Regions from separate parts of the Homo sapiens genome. Here region 1 is linked to region 2. The links are contacts of gene promoters, found by promoter capture Hi-C in human tissues and cell types (Jung and others, 2019). All regions are on one chromosome and are shown on one strand. The core of a region is centred on a gene start or on the middle of the fragment in contact, and the rest is flanking DNA. Distances in the headings are between cores, read along the strand shown. Region 1 has its middle 37 kb from the start of NOG. Region 2 holds the start of NOG (noggin).

Region 1 (2,700 bases), core at 177-2,676, 38 kb after region 2:
TTTTTTCCCCCTACCCCAAAGATTGAGACTGAATTTTCCAGGCAACAATGGGAATTCTTGTATGGGTTACTTTCCCAGAGTGTTTCGGAGAGACATCTATTATTTTTTTCTGTCCAGCAACCCCCATACCCTGCTTTAAGACATTGTTCCCACTTCCCAATCATGGGACTCGGTGGTACAGCCAATCAGTTTCTCATGCTCCTGAGTGTAAGGGTGGGACATGGTCATGACCTGCCAATCACAGGACTGCATTTCACTGTCAGGAATGGACATTTAACTGCAGTCAGACCCATCAGAATCTTTCCCTGGAACTTTTTTTCTTTTTTTGAGATAGTCTCTCTGTCGTCCAGTCTGGAGTGTAGTGGTACAATGATAGCTCACTGCAGCCTCAAACTCTTGGGCTCAAGCCGTGCTCCTACCTTAGCCTCCTGAGTAGCTGAGACTACAGGTATGCCACCACACCTGGCTAATTTTTAAATTTTTTGTAGAGAGAGGATCTTGCTATGTTGCCCAGGCTGGTCTTGAACTCCTGGCCTCAAGTAATCTTCCCACCTTGGTCTCCCAAAATGCTATGATTACAGCCGTGAGCTACCACACCAAGCCTTTTTTCCTCTTTTTCTTAGGGACTTTGGATTTGAAGGAGAAAGTGGTGCCTTTTATGACAGAGAGCTAGGAGGATATGAATTGGGGATGGCAGGTGGCCATCTTTTTTACAATTTGGTGATGACCTATTTGCAGAATAGGAGAGAATAAGGCAATATGCGGAAAAAGCATCAGTACCAAGCAACGGGGAAAAAGGTGAGAGAGGGTCTTGAGGATTGTGCTTGAATTCCTGGACCTAGGCATGCCTGGAGCCAGGTTCATCCGTGATTTCCCGCTTTGACGGACCAATATAGTCTCCTCATCCTTCTTCTTTAATCCTAAATTAGTCTGAGAGTTCTATCTCAAATAAGGGTCATGGCTTGTGGCCCATCCTCAGGCAAATCAAAACTGTGTTTCTGAGGGGGAGAAGACAGAAACTGGGAAAGAAATTATGAACAGTCATTTTATGAAACCCATGCATGATAATGGTCTGTGGTCCCACCTCTATTCCTTCTCATTAATTTGTTCAGCATACATACATACATTAAATGCCCACTGTGTGCTAAGCTTGTGCCAGGGCTGGGGATATTAAAATGAAGAAGGTGAAATCTCTTGCCCTCAAGGATTTCACAGTCCAATTGGAAGAACAAACAAATAAACAGGCAACAATAACACACGGTGATATGATACAGTACTAGGATTAGACTACAATGCTAGGAAGGAACATTGGCACCCGGGGAACATGGGAAAAGGCAGCTAACTCAGCAGTGAAGGGAGATCAGAGACTTCCAGAAGGAGGCAGCACCTAAGCTGAGCCCTAAGGGACAAAGTCTCCTGGAGATGGAGGTGCAGATGTAGCTGGATGTTCACCAGTAGCTCACCACTCCAAGCACCTTCTGATGGGTTATTATTTCTGAGAATAATGTGGGAGTGCTAGAGAGGAGCAGATATGGTGCTATCCTGAGTTGCACTAAGTAAGTTACAACAGATTTGGTCCCTCTTGAAGTGAAAAATATCCAACAGACTAATTTGGTGAAGACAAAAGAGAGAAAAGACAAAGGAACATACAGCTATAGAATCAAATTTGGCAAATGTGTATCATAGTTTTTGTATCCTCTCTGGTGAGTTCTGAAATGATTGAATGGCCAAACCCCAGGCAGCAATAACCAAGGGTCAGTGGGGGAGAAGGTTGGGAACCATTTGCTTATATGAGAGTGGAACTAACCATAGAATGAGTTTTAAAGGTAGCTTTATTGTTTATTTTTAAAGTTTATTGATTTTTTTTAAATCAGAAAAAAACCCTCAAATCACTCAAAATACGATTACCCAGAGATTTCTACTACTAAGATTTTGCTGAGCTTCACCTAGGCATTTTTCTAAGGATATATTTACATAGATTATTCATACATAGAGATATATGGCTATAATTTAATAAAAATGGGATCGTACTGTGTGTCCATTTACATAATCTTTTTATTACTTGATGACATGCTGTGTTAATCTTTACATTCTAACAAATACAGAACTACACTATCATTTTTAATGGCTGCATAATATTCCATTAAATGGAAGTATTGCACATCAATAAACCCTACTGAACTACTGATGGACACTTAGAGGGTTCCCAAATTTTCACTCGGTTTTGATAGCAGTGCTGTGATAAGCCTCTCTGTAAACACAGTGGAGTTCCTTAGGTTATGCCACACTGGGGACCAGCACAGCATTTTTCAGAAGGTCACTTTATCCTGTGTCTCCTCGAGCGTTGGAACATATTGATTTTCTGCTTGGCTTGCATGTAGGGATTATGTTATAGGTCATGTATCTTTAAACACTAGCCTCACACGCAGCAGGAAGAGATACTTATTCTATGAGAGGCAGTTGGGAACTGAGGCCAGTTTGAGAGATCAAGAGATTCTTTGTCCCCCACATCAAGCTTGCCTTGGACTTAGGCTTATTGGGTGGAAGTATTTCAGAATGACACACACACTACTTAAATGATTTCTCTTTGTCCCTTTTATTTATTTTTATTATTACTATTTTCAAAACTTTAAGCCTGGGTCTCACTATGTTGCCCAATCTCGTCTAAAACCCCTGGGCTCAAGCAATCCTCCTGCCTCA
Region 2 (2,700 bases), core at 60-2,559:
GGTGGTGGAACTGGTTGGAGGCGGTGCAGGGGGCGTCGGTGGGGATCGATCAAGTGTCCGGGTGCGGGCAGGGGGCCCCCGAGTTCTAGCACGAGCACTTGCACTCGGAAATGATGGGGTACTGGATGGGAATCCAGCCGCAGCGCTGGCCCCCGCGCCGCTGACAGCGCCACCGCAGCACCGTGAGGTGCACGGACTTGGACGGCTTGCACACCATGCCCTCGGGCACGGAGCACGAGCGCTTACTGAAGCAGCTGCCCACCTTCACGTAGCGCGGCCAAAAGCGGCTGCCCAGGTCGTTCCACGCGTACAGCACGGGGCAGAATGTCTGCGACCACAGCCACATCTGTAACTTCCTCCGCAGCTTCTTGCTTAGGCGCTGCTTCTTGCCCTGGGCCAAGCCCTCGGAGAACTCTAGCCCTTTGATCTCGCTCGGCATGGCCCCCGACGGCCGCTGCCGCAGCAGCTGGTCCAGCTCCGCCAGGTCCTCCGCGCCCCCAGCTGCACCCCCGCCCCCGCCGGGCCGGTCCTCGGGGGGCGAGGTGGCCATGAAGCCTGGGTCGTAGTGGCCCCCGAGCAGCGAGCGCAGCAGCGTCTCGTTCAGATCCTTTTCCTTGGGGTCAAAGATAGGGTCTGGGTGTTCGATGAGGTCCACCAGGGGCAGGTTGTCGCTGGGTGCCGGGCGGATGTGGAGATAGTGCTGGCCGCCGGCCGGTGTCGCCCGCAGCCCCAGGACCACCACCAGGGCGTAGAGGGTGACCCCTAGGCTGGGGCAGCGCTCCATGCCTCTGGCGCGCGCCCGGGGCTGCTGCTTCGTCCCGCGTCCCCGGAGGAGAGCACGCCGAGCCCGCGGCGCCGCCGCGCTCCCCCGTCTCTCCGGAGGCGGCTCACCCGAGGCTGGGCAGGCGCAGGGCCGGCAGCATGAGCCGCCGGGAGAGCCCTTCGCGCAGCGCCGGCTCCCACCGGGGCGGAAGAAAGGCACACAAGTTGGCCGCAACTCCTCTCCCGGGTCTACTGGGGAAGGCGGCCGCGGCTGGGCATCCGAAATTACTCCAGGGCGACCGCGGGGCGCGGGAGGCGCCGGCTCCTCGCTGCCTTCCCGGGCCGGCGGCGGCGCAGGGCGCGTGGACGAGCCGCTCTCCCCTCCTCCTCTCGCTGCTCTTCGTCCGGCCGCTCTGTGCAAGCGCCGCTGGCTGAGCTGGTTCTAGGGGCACTTCCCTCCGCCTGCTCCGGGCTCCGCGGCCGGCTCTGCCCGGCGGACTCCAGCGGCGGCGGCGGCGGCGGCGTCCGCGCACGTTGGCACCGGTTTGTCTGTCTCGCAGGGTCCAAGCCTTTAAATTTCCTGCACTTTCAGCTCCATCACCATGGAAACCACTGACTCTCTCGGCGTTGCCCCCTCCCCCTTCTTCCCCCCAAACAACAACCCCACCCCCCACTTCTCCACCCCCGAGGAGCTGGAGCTGCACAGGCTCCGGGGGAAGCCGCCTGTACTCGCCGCGGAGGCGGCGGCGGCGGCTTCGGCAGCGCCCAGGGCTGTGCCCCGCCGGACCCAGATGCCCCGGGAAGCCGACAGTCCGGCTGCCCGCCGGAGCTCACAGGCGGCGGCGGCGGCGGCGGCAGCGGCGGTGGCGGCGGCGGTGGCGCTTGGCAGGTCTCCGCGCAATTTTCTCTCTCCCCCACCACCCACCCCCCTTCTCCTCCTCCTGCAAAATGCACCGCCCCCCTCCTTTCTCCTGGAGCAATGCAACTGGGGCTCTAGGCGCCCCGCCAGGGCCAGTCCTGGGGAAAGCTCGCGGCGGCGCTGGAGCCGGGCTGGAGGGTGCAGAGCCGGTGTTTGGGGAGGGGGGGCGGTGCTTGAGGTGGGGCTGGAGGGTTTCTCACTAGCTGGGTGCTTTGCACTGGGAGGGGAGCAGCGGGGAAGTGCTGGGGGCTCGTTTCTCGGTGCATGCAGTTCGGAGCAAGAAATTTCTCCATGTGCATGGAGCGTTTTCCCCGAGCGCGTCTTCTTCTCTCCCGGGCTCTTGCTCTAAGTCCCCTCCCCCCAACACACATATATACACACACACACACACACACACACACAGCCCCTACCCCACCCCCCTTTGCACCAGGGAGTCCGAGAGCCGCAGCGTTGCGCAGCGTGATGTAATTCTTAGGAAGCACTCCTGTCTGTCTGCCCCTCGGGCCCACGAGGGGGTTCCGCTCCTCACCATCCTCCTCCTCCTTGGCCGGGTCCTGCACCCTGAGTGGCCTAGCCTCAGGGGCGCGACTGGCTCGCCTGCGGCTCCCCTAGCCCGCCCGGCTCCGCGCGGCCGCCGCTCGGCTCCCTGGGGGCGGCGCGCCCTCTGCTGGCCCGCTATGAGCCCTGCACCTGGCGCTGGCGGGGGCGGCCGTGCGAGGTGGGTCGGCCGCTGCCCGCTCTGCCCAGTTCAGCTTCTGCTTCTGTGTCCCTGTCACTTTGTGTGTGTCTGCGTCTGCTGACTGGTCCGTTTTGGTTCTGGCTATTTTCCCGAAGGTCTCCAGGCCCCCAGTGTAAACAAACTTCCTGAGATTCCTTCTCGGTCCCCTCAAATTTCACAAGAATGCGTGCAGCACCTTCTGCCTCAGGTAAATCGGTCTCTGGTCTCAGTGGGTGCGAGTGGGGACCAGAAACTTGAAAGGTGAGCTGACAGCAGAGGCACCTGAGTCTTGCCCGGGGTC

What was found. Contacts are between HindIII fragments. The study calls those that stand out against the background at their distance.
Region 1: a fragment that was not itself captured here is called in contact with the fragment with the promoter of NOG in region 2 in 1 of the 25 tissues and cell types used here (lymphoblastoid cells).

The regions. Positions count from the first base shown.
Region 1 is chr17:56,554,896-56,557,595 of GRCh38, reverse strand. No RefSeq gene overlaps it. Among named protein-coding and RNA genes, the nearest start is that of NOG, 37 kb to the left of the region's middle. The HindIII fragment of the contact is 5,061 bases long and covers 1-2,700 here.
Region 2 is chr17:56,592,308-56,595,007 of GRCh38, reverse strand. NOG (noggin) reads right to left here and starts at 1,309. Exons shown (of 1, transcript NM_005450.6): 1 at 1-1,309. The coding sequence starts at 784. The coding sequence ends at 86. RefSeq lists a silencer at 2,247-2,456. The HindIII fragment of the contact is 21,510 bases long and covers 1-2,700 here.